Regions from separate parts of the Homo sapiens genome. Here all the other regions are linked to region 2. The links are contacts of gene promoters, found by promoter capture Hi-C in blood cells and fetal thymus (Javierre and others, 2016). All regions are on one chromosome and are shown on one strand. The core of a region is centred on a gene start or on the middle of the fragment in contact, and the rest is flanking DNA. Distances in the headings are between cores, read along the strand shown. Region 1 overlaps HAUS5-DT (HAUS5 divergent transcript). Region 2 holds the start of PRODH2 (proline dehydrogenase 2). Region 3 holds the start of PMIS2 (PMIS2 transmembrane protein).

Region 1 (4,363 bases), core at 890-3,389, 210 kb before region 2:
TTTAACTGTAATTTTCCACTACCTACCCAAATCCTATAAAACTGCCTCACTCCTATCTCCCTTTGCTGACTCCTTTTTCGGACTCAGTCCGCCTGCACCCAGGTGATTAAAAAGCTTTTACTGCTCACACAAAGCCTGTTTGATGGTCTCTTCACACGGACGCACGTGACAAAAATAAAATCCTAAGTCCGCCAACTGGCTGAATGAACACTGTCTTGGCCAAGGGGCCTACAGAGAAACACTAAAAGCTGAGTTCCTAGCCGTGACTGAACGGGTGGTCGGGCACACCTCATTCTACCTCCTCCCTTGCTGACTGCCATGAAGCTTTCTTCCCTAAGGGTTAAACAGAAACCAGCCCTATTGAAAGACTCATTCACTGCTAATTTCAACCAATGGCCTGAAATACATGGCTGCTCCTCCCTTTTGTGGTTTCAACATAACAACTGACCAGCATTCCTTCCTGATCAGAGGCCACCTAACCACGGGGTGTGGCTCTGGCCAGTCTACAGAGGCTGCACACAAAGGGCCTTTGTGTCCTCTGCATCACCTTTTGATGTATAGGGCCTAATTGTAATACATTTAAGTGTTAAGTCTCCACTCCAAAGTGAACATGGGGCCTGGCACGGTGGCTCACGCCTGTAATCCCAGCACTTTGGGAGGCCAAGGTGGGCGGATCACCTGAGGTCAGGAGTTTGAGACCAGCCTGGCCAACATGGTGAAACCCTGTCTCTACTAAAAATAAAAAAATTAGCCAGGCATGGTGATGGGTGCCTGTAATCCCAGCTACTCATGAGGCTGAGGCAGGAGAATTGCTTGAACCCTGGGAAAGAGAGGTTGCAGTGAGCTGAGATCGCACCACTACACTACAGCCTGGGTGACAGAGTAAGACTCCATCTCAAAAAAAAAAAAAAAAAAAAAAAAAAGTGAATATGGGATGTTACTACACATGTGCTGTACCTTCCCTTCATGAATATTCATAGCTCCTCCTATAACCTGTTGAATATGTATACTGAGCCAAGCCATTCAGCGTTAACTCTGACCTTATCCTTCCCTTACTGGAGGTGCCTGCTCTCAGCTTCTACCGGAGGCTACACTTCTCGGCCTGTGAGATGGCCCGGCTGCAGGCTGCAACTCTTTATGAGAAATAAAGCTCTCCTTTCCAAATTTGTAAACCTGTATTAGTCTGTTCTCACGCTGCTGAAAAGAACTGCCCAAGACTGGGTAATTTATAAAGGAAAGAGGTTTAATTGACTCACAGTTCCGCAGGGTTGGGGAGGCCTCAGGGAACTTAAAATCATGGTGGAAAAGAAAGCAAAAACGTCCTTCCTCAGATGGCAGCAGGAAGGAGAAGTGCCAAGCAAAGAGGGAAAAGCCCCTTATAAAACCATCAGATCTCGTGAGAACTCACTATCTCAAGAACAGCAGCATGGGGGTAACCACCCCCATGATTCGATTACCTCCCACTAGGTCCCTCCCACAACACATGGGGATTTGGGGAACTACAATTCAAGATGAGATTTGGGTGGGGACAGCCAAACCATATCAAAACCTCATGATTCTTCAGTTGACATCTAATCTGAGCTACCATGGTCTATCAAAAAACCACAGCTCTTGAGGGGATCTCAATGGCTGTTAACAAACTGGTTAGAGTTCTGGTCAGGTTCTGATTGTAGAGAGCCTCTGTAACAGATATGGATTGCCTCCTTCCCCCCACCCTCCTTGTTATTTTTATTTCATTTTATTAAATTTTTTTTTGAGACAGGGTCACACTATGTCACCCAGACTGGAATGCAGTGGCACAATCTCAGCTCACTGCAACTTCTGGCTCCCAGGTTCAAGTGATTCTCATGCCTCAGCCTCCTGAGTAGCTAGGACTACAGGTGCATGCCACCATGCCCAGCAAATTTTTATATTTTTTGTAGAGACAGGGTTTTGCCATGCTGCCCAGACTGGTCTCAAACTCCTGAGCTCAACCAATCTGTCTGCCTTGGCCTCCCAAAGTGCTGGGATTATAGGCGTGAGCCACTGTTCCCAGCCATGATTTTTATTTAACAAATACTCATTATTTAACAAATACTTTCTGAGCACCTACTGTGTCCCAGGCATTGTCTTGGGAACGAGGAACACAACGGAGCAAGAGAAGTAAGGCCAACTTCTTCTCTGATGGAGCTTACATTCTAGTGGGAAAGAAAACTATAAACAAGTATACCCAAAAATAAACAAGATAATTACAGGGAATGGTAAATGCTATAGAGAAAAATAAAACAGAATAAGAAGCTAAAGTGGTGCCAGGACTGGTCCAGCAACTATTATGGTGTTGGGAGCAAGCCCCCCAAAATATGGCCATAAACTGACCCCAAGACTGGCCACAAACAAAATCTCCACAGCACTGTGACATGTTCATAATGGCCCTAACGCCCAAGCTGGAAGGTTGTGGGTTTACGGGAATGAGGGCAAGGAACACCTGGCCCGCCCAGAGTGGAAAACCACTTAAAGGCATTCTTAAGCCACAAACAATAGCATGAGCGATGTGTGTCTTAAGGACGTGTTCCTGCTGCAGTTAACTAGCCCAACCTATTCCTTTAATTCGGCCCATCCCTTCGTTTCCCATAAGGGATACTTTTAATTTAATATCTATAGAAACAATGCTAATGACTGGTTTGCTGTTACTAAATATGTGGGTAAATCTCTGTTCGGGGCTCTCAGCTCTGAAGGCTGTGAGACCCCTGATTTCCCACTTCACACCTCTATATTTCTGTGTGTGTGTGTTTAATTCCTCTAGCACCAGTGGGTTAGGGTCTCCCCAACCGAGCTGGTGTCTGCAATGGTGTGCCACCAGATAAGTACGGAAATTGCCAGCAAGTGTTTAGAAACACAGCAATTTGACATATCCATGACATCCAAGTATAGGATCAATGGATTTTCTTGTTGAACAGGGTAGAGACCAAAAGGATTGGTCCATGACAGGTTGGAAACATCAAACAAATGATCCTTCTCCATAGTTACAAGTAGTTTGAGATACACTGAGCTAGTGGGCAATGATGTCTACAAGGTATATTATTTAGAGTCATGCTAGCTGCTATAACAAATAAACCCCACCATTTCAGTAGCTCACAAAATAAAAGTTCTTTTTTTTTTTTTTTTTGAGACGGAGTTTCACTTTTGTTGCCCAGGCTGGAGTGCAATGGCACGATCTCAGCTCACAACAACCTCTGCCCCCTGGGTTCAAGCGATTCTCCTGCCCCAGCCTCCCAAGTAGCTGAGATTACAGGCATGCACCACCACACCCGGCTGATTTTTTTGTATTTTTAGTAGAGACGGGGTTTCTCCATGTTGGTCAGGCTAGTCTCAAACTCCTAACCTCAGGTGATCCACCTGCCTCAGCCTCCCAAAGTGCTGGGATTACAGGCATGAGCCATCACGCCCAGCCAGAAGCTCATTTCTTACTGTTCCTTTGAGCACATTCCAGCATCAGGGTCTTTCCACTTGCTGTTCCCACTTTGGGAACTCCATTTTCACAGTTTTCAAGTAGCTCTCACACTTTGGCTCTCACGTCTCAGCTCAAAGAACATCTTAGAAAGGCCTTCTGTGGCAGAGCCAGCAGGATGTTTATTGACTGCCTAGACCAGGACTACATTTCCCAGAGGCCCTTGCAGCTAGTTGAAGCCATAAGACAAGTTATGTTCAATGGACTGAGAGCAGAAGTGATGTATGTCACTTTAGGGTGAAGACTTTCAAGAAGCAGGTGCGAGTTCCTTATTCTCTCTTCTGCCTGGATTCAAAAGACTCTGAGCCCATAGAAGATGGTTGAATCACCTTATGGAAGAAGCCTGGATCCCTGAATTACTATGTGGATCAGGAGAAATGTCTGATGGGATGTTCTATGAGTAAGAAATGAGAAGACTCTTCTCAAACGTGGAAGGAGCTGCTGAAACCAAAATCACAAGTCCTAGAGAAGCTTCTTATTATCTCTCAGATGGTGGATGGGTTCCAAAAAGCATCCTGAAATTATCCAGAAAAACAGAAAAGAGATTTCAGATAAAGCAAAGGGAGAGAGATGCTGACAGAAGAAGACCAAGAGGCCACAGGGGCTCTGCTCCTTCAGGATCTAAGAAAGCAGGAAGGCACCAGTACCTCCCACCAAGGCCAACAGAACAGATACCATGAGAAAGGAACCAAGAAAAGGACAAATGGTGACATGTCTCCAAAACAAGGAGACATTGAGCATAAGAAGCAGAAAGTGAGGCCAGGTGCAGTGGCTCACACCTGTAATCCCAGCACTTTGGGAGGCTGAGGCAAGTGGATCACTTGAGGTCAGGAGTTTGAGACCAGCCTGGCCAACATGGTGAAACCCCGTCTCTAC
Region 2 (3,965 bases), core at 564-3,063:
CACCAAAAAATAAGATGGATTGATGGATGGATAGAGGAATAGAGGGATAGATATGATTTAAAGTGAGTATAGTTAAAGGTGGCGGGGGCATGGATGTTCATGTACAATTCTTTTTACTTTTCTGTATATTTGAAAATTTTTATAATAGAATATTGGGGAAAATATGCCCCCCACGAATGGTATACACCTGGCAAAACAAAATCATAGAAACAAAAAGATATGCATTATACAAGACGGCAGGCTGGGTGTGGTGGCTCACACCTATAATCCCAGAACTTTGGGGGGCTGAGGCTGGGGGATTGCTTGAGGCCATGAGTTAGAGACCACCCTGTGCAATACAGTAAGACAAAGAGAAAGAGAGAGAGAGAGAGAGAGGAGGGAGGAGAGAGAAGGAAGGAAGGAAGGAATAAAGGAAGGAAGGAAGGAAGGGAGGGAGGGAGGGAGGGGAGAGAAGGAAAAAGAAAAGAAGGAAGGAAGGAGAGAGAGCAAAAGAGGAAGAGGAAGGAAGGAGAGAGAGAGAAAGAAAGAAAAAAAGATGGAGTAGGGTTGAAAGAGAATGTGGAGATAAAAAGGAATTAATGATTGAATGAACAAACTAAGACCCCATTGGCCTAATCAGAACTTACACCCAGCCAGCTCACACCCATGCAGCTGTGTTGACTGAGAACACACTGATGTACCTCCTTCTAATTGATAAACAGCTTCTATCCCAATCCCTCCTCTGAGAGCCTCCAGCCTCCAGGCTCCTCCCTGAGAACCCAGATGACCCTGATTCCATCCATTTCAACCATGCCTGGGAGCTACAGCTGCACTTCTGCTGGCTGTTCCAAGCCTGGAGGTGGCCGTAGCATTTTGAACATCTGGCGTGCGGTGTGGCCGCATCTAAGTCCAAGGCACTCTGTCCCCGACAGTCCCGCTTGAGATCCTTACCTGCCCAGAGTCCATAGCTTCAGCCAGCCTCTCGGGGCTCAGCTCCAAGGAGGCTCCTGGCCTTCTGACCCACGAGGCTAGCTCCTTCTGAAATGGGGTGGTAGGCGGGGTGGTGAGGGGAGCCCGATGGGCAGCCGCGCCCTCCCCGCACCCCCGTCTTTGCACTCCTTACACAGAGCCGAGTACTGGTCAGCGCCGTCACCTTCAGCTGCATGAGGCTGGCCTCAGCCAGGCTGGGGGGCTCCAGGAGGCCCCGTGACAGGTCCACACACCGCAGCATAGCACCGAGGTTCCCCTCATACCACGCCTCACTGCCCAGCCAGCAGGTGTCAGGGCCCGAACAGCAAAGCCCCTTCCTGCGTCCTCCCAGCCTCCCTGGGCCCTGGCTCCCTACTCACCCACTCTTGGCAGCAGAGTCCGGCTCCTCCTCAGTGGGCACTGCCAGCAGTGGTCGGAGGCTGAGGGTCCGCAGCTGCTGCACGCAGCCCTTCACCTCCTCTGCTGTCTCACCAGCCACAAACTGCCCATAGACGGATGCTCGGAGAAATGCGCCTGAGAGCCGGGAGCCCAGGAGTCGCCGAGACCAGGCCTGGAGCTGGGTGACAGGGAGCGAGGGCTCAGCGCCAGGCTATGAGGAGCCTCCAGGCTGGTCCTCAGGATCACTGCTCACCAACAGCCCGTGAGTGACGAGTGGGGGCCAGGCACACAGCCGGAGAACCAGCAAGGCCCGTGTCAGCTCTCCTGTGCCCTTAAGGTGGAAGGCCCCGCCATCAAAGCTCAGGGACTGCCAGCCCCTGGAGGGGGGACCAGCTTGGGAACAGAGCACGTAACAGGTCCGGAGCATCCTGGGTCCCTGGCTGCCTCCACACCAGGGAAGGTTCTCTGGAGGCAGCAAGTTCACCAACTGCCCCTTGCCCAGACCAGGGGCAGTGACTGATTAACTGGGCAAAGCCTCAGGATCACAGGCTCCTTGGGGGCAATTAATTATTAACAAATGGGGACAGAGTTCAGAGTAACGGAAACGGGAGGTGAACCCCAGTAACAGCCCCCAAGAATGCTCAGCACAACAGCCTGCACTTATTAGGTAACCACCATGTGCTGGGGAAAGCAGGGGCTCCGGAGCAAGGATCCCTGGGCTCAGGACACCGGGCTTTGTGATCCAGGACAGGCTACTTAATCACTTTTGTGGCAATTGCTTCCTCTTAAAATTGGAAACGCTGTAGTGTTATTGAATACATTTGAAAATACGGTTCTCACGTTTGTAATCCCAACACTTTGGGAGGCCAAGACCGAGGAGTTTGAGACTACCCTGGGCGACATAGTGAGACCCCATCTCTACAAAAAATACAAAAATTAACTGTGTGTGGTGGCACACACCTGTGGTCCTAGCTACTCAGGAGGCCGAGGAAGGTGGATCTCTTGAGCCTGGGAGGTCAAGGGTGCAGTGAGCTGTGATTGTGCCACTGCACTCCACCCTGGGTGACAAAGTGAGACTCTGTCGCCAAAAAAAGAAAAAAGAAAAGACAAATAACCTATATAACCCAGCTGTTCCATGCTAAGTACATATCCTAGAGACCTTAAACATGGACAGCAGGAAACATGTACAGGAAAGAATGTTCAGAGGAGCAGTGTCTGAACTACCCAAATGTCCATCAAAAGGAGAATGGATACATATATGGTGGTGTAGTTATGCAATGGAATACTATACAGTAATGAAAAAGAATGGATACTGATACACACAACTGTGTGGCTGAATCTCACAATGTCAAGTGAAAGAAGCCAGACACCAAACAGGGCAAGCTGTATTATTCTTTTTTTTTTTTTTTTTTTTTTTTTTTTGAGACACAGTTTCACTCTTGTTGCCCAGGCTAGAGTGCAATGGCACAATCTCAGCTCACTGCAACCTTCACCCCCCGGGTTCAAGCGATTCTCTTGCCTCAGCTTCCAGAGTAGCTGGGATTACAGGCATGTGCCACCACGCCCCACTAATTTTGTATTTTTAGTAGAGACAGGGTTTCTCCATGTTGGTCAGACTGGTCTTGAACTCCCGACCTCAGGTGATCTGCCCGCCTCAGCCTTCCAAAGTGCTGGGATTACAGGCATGAGCCACTGTGGCTGGTCTATACTTTTCAATAAATATAAAAGCAAGGAAAGTGAAACTGCAGTAAAATGTTGGGAATACATGCGTGGGTGGTCAAACTATGAGGACAAGAAAAGTAAGGACATGATTATCACAGAAGTCAGAGAGGTGGTTGATTGTGGGGGATGGGAGGAATTGTAATGGGGTAGAGGGATATGGGGACTTCTATATCCTATTTTCTTTTTTTAAAATGGAAACCATATGTCTTAATTTTTTTGTTTTGTTTTGTTAGACGTATCCTTGCTCTGTCACCCAGGCTGGAGTGCAGTGGTGCGATCTCGGCTCACTGCAACCCCCATCTCCCGGGTTCAAGTGATTCTTCTGCTTTAGCCCCCTGAGTAGCTGGGACTACAGGCACCCACCACCACACCTGGCTAATTTTTGTATTTTTGTAGATATGGGGTTTCACCATGTTGGCCAGGCTGGTCTTGAGCTCCTGACCTCAAGTGATCCACCCTACTTGTCCTCCCAACATGCTGGGATTACAGGCGTGAAGTCCTAGGTCTTTTTTTTTTTTTTTTTTTTTTTTTGAGACAGAGTCTTACTCTGTTGCCCAGGCTGGAGTGCAGTGGCACGATCTCGGCTCACTACAGCCTCTGCCCCCGGGTTCAAGCAATTATCCTGCCTCAGCCTCCCGAGTAGCTAGGATTACAGGCGTCTGCCACCGCGCCTGGCTAACTTTTGTGTTTTTAGTAGAGTCACGGTTTCACCATCTTGGCCAGGCTGGTCTTGAACTCCTGACCTCATGATCCACCTGCCTTGGCCTCCCAAAGTGCTGGGATTACAGGTGTGAGCCACTGTGCCTGGCAGTGGCTTCTAGGTCCTAGGAGTCCTAGGTCTTAACATGGATGATGATTCATAGTTGTTCACATTGTAAGGTTTTTTTTGTTTTGTT
Region 3 (3,964 bases), core at 1,011-3,510, 230 kb before region 2:
TTCCTTGCTGGCTGTCAGCTGGGAGCCATTCTCAGCCAGAGGCTGCCTGGATTCCTCCCTACGTGGCCCTGGTGACATCTTCATGCCAGCAATGGAGACCTTTGCTTGCCTCCAATCCTCTCACACCTGAAACCTCTTTTGCCAGGAAGACTCAGTCCTTTTCAAGAACTCACCTCATTAGGTGAGGCCCCCAGAGGATATTCTTCCTAACTTAAAGTTAACTGATTTCAGACCCTACCTACGTCTGCAAGACGCCTTCCCAGCAGCATACAGACTAGTACTTGACTGAGTGACTGGAGAAGGAGTGTGTACACCAGGGAGCAGGAATCTTCGGGTCATCTCAGAGTTCTGCCTACCACATTGGGGATTTCCTGTTCCATCGTTCCATTAGGTTGTGTTCTACTTTAAGAAAGATCTTCCCCCTTTTCCCCTTCTTTCTCTATTCTTTCCTTTTTTCTTTCTGTCAGCATAAACCAAGGAATTCTTTTTTTTTTTTTTTTTTGTCATTTTTTCTTGAGATGGAGTCTCACTCTGTCACCCAGGCTGGAGTGTGCAGTGTGATCTCGAATCACTGCAACCTCCGCCTCCCGGGTTCAAACGATTCTCCTGCCTCATCCTCCCTAGTAGCTGGGATTACGGGCGCCTGCCACCACACCCGGTTAATTTTTGTATTTTTAGTAGAGACGGGGTTTCACCACGTTGGTCAGGCTAGTCTCGAACTCCTGATCGCAGGTAATCCGCCCGCTTTGGCCTCCCAAAGTGTTGGGATTACAGGCATGAGCCACTGCGCCCAGCCGGAATTCATTTTTAATTCAAGACTTTACAATCCACTTCTGACACTACTCATTTTCCTCCCCTCAGTAAATCTCTTACTCTTACTGGGCGTGTCTAGTTTCTCTCTTCCACAACTCCTGGGAGACCCTCCTGACATCGCCCATCCGCGCAGGCTGCAGAGAGAGATCAGTGGGAGGAGGAGGAGCCGAGAGCCACCACTTAGGCTTCCAACCAATCCCTACCAGGGTGGGCGGAGCCCACTTCCTGATTGGCTGCACTCTCTGTGTCTTGGGGTGGGCGAGAACGGCGGGGCCACGCCCCCTAACTAGGCAGCCAATCAGGACGTGGGGTGCTGGTTTCTCCATTGCGAAGCTTCAGCCTTTGATGGTTTGGGTCCTGGGAGTCTGGTTAGTACAAGGGGAAGCCTAGTGGGTCTGGCGCTCCGTTTTCAAGACACTCGGAGTCCGTCTTTGAGGGGAAAGGTCATGGCCCTGAAACCACCTTCTGCCACCCAGCCTGCTCCCAACGCGCCAGCTACCCCAGACGCCCCCCCTACCACAGGTGATCCAGGTGCTTCAGCTGCCCCAGGTTCTCCCACTACCACAGGTGGTCCAGGTGCCCCAGCTGAGGTGCCCCAGGAGCCGCAAGAGCCTACACAGACACCAGAGGAACTAGCATTTTACGCCCCAAACTACCTATGTTTGACCATCTTTGCTATACTTTTATTCCCTCCATTTGGATTGGCAGCTTTGTACTTCTCTTATGAGGTAAAATAATGCCCAAGTCATAGCCCCCGTCCTTTTTTTTTTTTTTTTTTCTTTTTGAGACCCAGTCTCACTCTGTCCCCCAGGCTGGAGTGCAGTGGTGCAATCTCGGCTCACTGCAATCTCTGCCTTCCCGGTTCCAGCAATTCTCCTGCCTCAGCCTCCTGAGTAGCTGGGATTACAGACATGAGCCACAGTGCCCGGCTCATTTTTGTATTTTTAGTAGAGACGGGGTTTCACCATGCTGGCCAGGCTGGTCTCGAGCTTCTGACCTTGTGATCCACCCGCCTTGGCCTCCCAAAGTGCTGGCATTACAGGCGTGAGCCACTGCACCCAGCCTACCCTGTCCTCCATTTGGCCCCTGCATCTGCTCCTATCCTGGGACCTGCATAGGGGCTTTCCCTCAGTGACTGCAGGTCTCCAACCGTTCTCCCCAGGGTTCCTGGACACAGAAACCCACATCTATGCTTCCACCCCTACAGACTATGAAGGCCAACCAGAACAGTGAATGGGAAGAGGCTTACATCAACTCAGGCCGAACTGGTTGGTTCGGTGCATTCGTGGTAATGATTGGCTTAGGCATCATTTATGGCTTGGTCCTATATTAATGAAGTCTAGGCATAGCAACCCAGGGGTCCGCTCCCCAACCGAGCCACTCACCAAACACTAACCAGCCAAGTCAGCCATCAGGCAAGAAATTCAACCGCTGAGACATCTAGCCAAGAAATCCTCTAACCAAGGAACTCAACATTCAAGAAACCCACCAACCCAGGAACACACAGACCACCTGCCTGTGCTACTTCAACTCACTCAGCTCCAGAGCTGTCTTCGTTCACCCTAGGGGTCCACACTTCATGCCCTAGATCCCTTTAGCTCCTTGACACTGGGCTGTTCTTTCAGAGGAATTTTAAACCAAAAAACTGGAATGGAATGTTCTGGTTTCCTGTGGTGTGTGTGTATGTGTGTGTGTCAACATGCCCATGATTGTTTTCTGGGTCAGTGGTCAGTATCTGTGTTTCCCTGGAGCTGTTTCCTAGACTGTGAAAATCAGAATGTCCCAATGGGGAAGCCCACAGACATAGAATTCAGGCAGATGTCAGTTAAAAACTTACCTCTGACACTGAAAAACTGTATAGCCCTGAACAGATACTTTTCTTGAGCATAGTTCCTTTGTCTCTAAAGCAGGCATAATTGCCAATGTGGGGATGATATTTAGAAATCTGAACTGATGTTTATTCTCTAGGGGTCTTCTCATTTGAGCTGGGATTGGAGATGTCTAGTGTCTCAGAGCAGCAATAAGAAAACAGAAACCTCTTCCAGCTTCTGACATCCAAATGTCAAGCTCTTAGGAGAAGAATGGAAAGTCCTCAAGAAATGCAAATAGCTTTGGCAGAATAGCTGATGAAGACCACCTCTCCCCCCTCCAGAAAGGCATTGGTTCCCCATTCATGGAAAAGGGAATGTAGAGAGAGATTAGACAATAGTACATCCATAAGGTTCCTGGAATCTGCATCTGAGGAAGAGGGGCGTCAGAGACCCCAGCTGTTATCTATAATCCCTCCTCACAGATAAGGCCTAGAGAGGCTCCAAGTTCTCAAAGAAGATATGCTACATGGTGTAGACATTTACAAAGAAATGACCTCAGACAGCCAAGGAGGATACCCCATGGCCCAGCCTAGTGAGAAGAAGGTGGGTTCCATAGGAATCCCAAGTGCCAGGTGGAGACAGAACTGTAGAGGAAAACTAGGGATAAGCAGGGAGCCATCGTGCATGAATCAAAACAGAGATCTAGACTGACACCATGGGCCACAGACACCCCGGGGCTGCCTCTGATGCCCAAGCTTCATGGACAACCCCAAGTTCAGAACCAGATGAATATTTAGCACAATATTTAGCAGAACTAAGTTTCCACCACCATGGAGAATGGGGATTCTCAGTAGAAAGTCAATGGAGCTGCTGGGCAAGAGACTGCTCACTGTCCCCCAGAGCCCATCGCCTCTTTGTTCTGGGAACATTGCCTGGCCACGTCTCAGAGGTTCCCCTCTGCAGCCATGAAATGTGCTTTGGTCCTGTGGAATGTGAGCAGAACTGACATGTACCACAAACAAACCTGGCTTTTCAATGTCTCCTGGGACACTCCTCTAAACTCCTCCTCCCCCGGCCAACGGGGCAAGGGATACCCATGTGATGATTTAGAAGGCCACATGTTGTAGACGTGGCAAAGCCCCCATTAGCCTGGGTCCCTGAACCATTCTAGGAACAGCCTCCCTTCCCCCAACTGCCTCATGTGGTCAAGCAGAAAATAGACTACCATGTTGACAAATGACATGCTTGGCCTGTTTCCACAGCCCAATCCACCCAAACCAGTGCAGATGCAGGAGAATAGAGTTCTATTTCTTGCACATCTGGGATTACAGCTTCAAGTT

The links. Contacts are between HindIII fragments. The CHiCAGO score rates a contact against its expected background, and 5 or more counts as called.
Region 1: a fragment that was not itself captured here is called in contact with the fragment with the promoter of PRODH2 in region 2 in 3 of 17 cell types (M1 macrophages, M2 macrophages and M0 macrophages); the score reaches 6.4 in M1 macrophages.
Region 3: a contact is called between a fragment that was not itself captured here and the fragment with the promoter of PRODH2 in region 2, in 2 of 17 cell types (M2 macrophages and M1 macrophages). The highest score is 5.9, in M2 macrophages.

Annotation. Positions count from the first base shown.
Region 1 is chr19:35,604,802-35,609,164 of GRCh38, forward strand. It overlaps HAUS5-DT (HAUS5 divergent transcript), which reads right to left. Exons shown (of 2, transcript NR_186318.1): 2 at 3,588-4,002. Among named protein-coding and RNA genes, the nearest start is that of HAUS5-DT, 5.7 kb to the right of the region's middle. The HindIII fragment of the contact is 3,634 bases long and covers 323-3,956 here.
Region 2 is chr19:35,811,032-35,814,996 of GRCh38, forward strand. It overlaps PRODH2 (proline dehydrogenase 2), which reads right to left and starts at 1,814. Exons shown (of 10, transcript NM_021232.2): 1 at 1,601-1,814; 2 at 1,329-1,525; 3 at 1,103-1,241; 4 at 931-1,017. The coding sequence starts at 1,774. The HindIII fragment of the contact is 7,636 bases long and covers 1-3,965 here.
Region 3 is chr19:35,585,001-35,588,964 of GRCh38, forward strand. PMIS2 (PMIS2 transmembrane protein) reads left to right here and starts at 1,173. Exons shown (of 2, transcript NM_001395412.1): 1 at 1,173-1,541; 2 at 1,976-2,296. The coding sequence starts at 1,260. The coding sequence ends at 2,146. The HindIII fragment of the contact is 2,233 bases long and covers 1,145-3,377 here.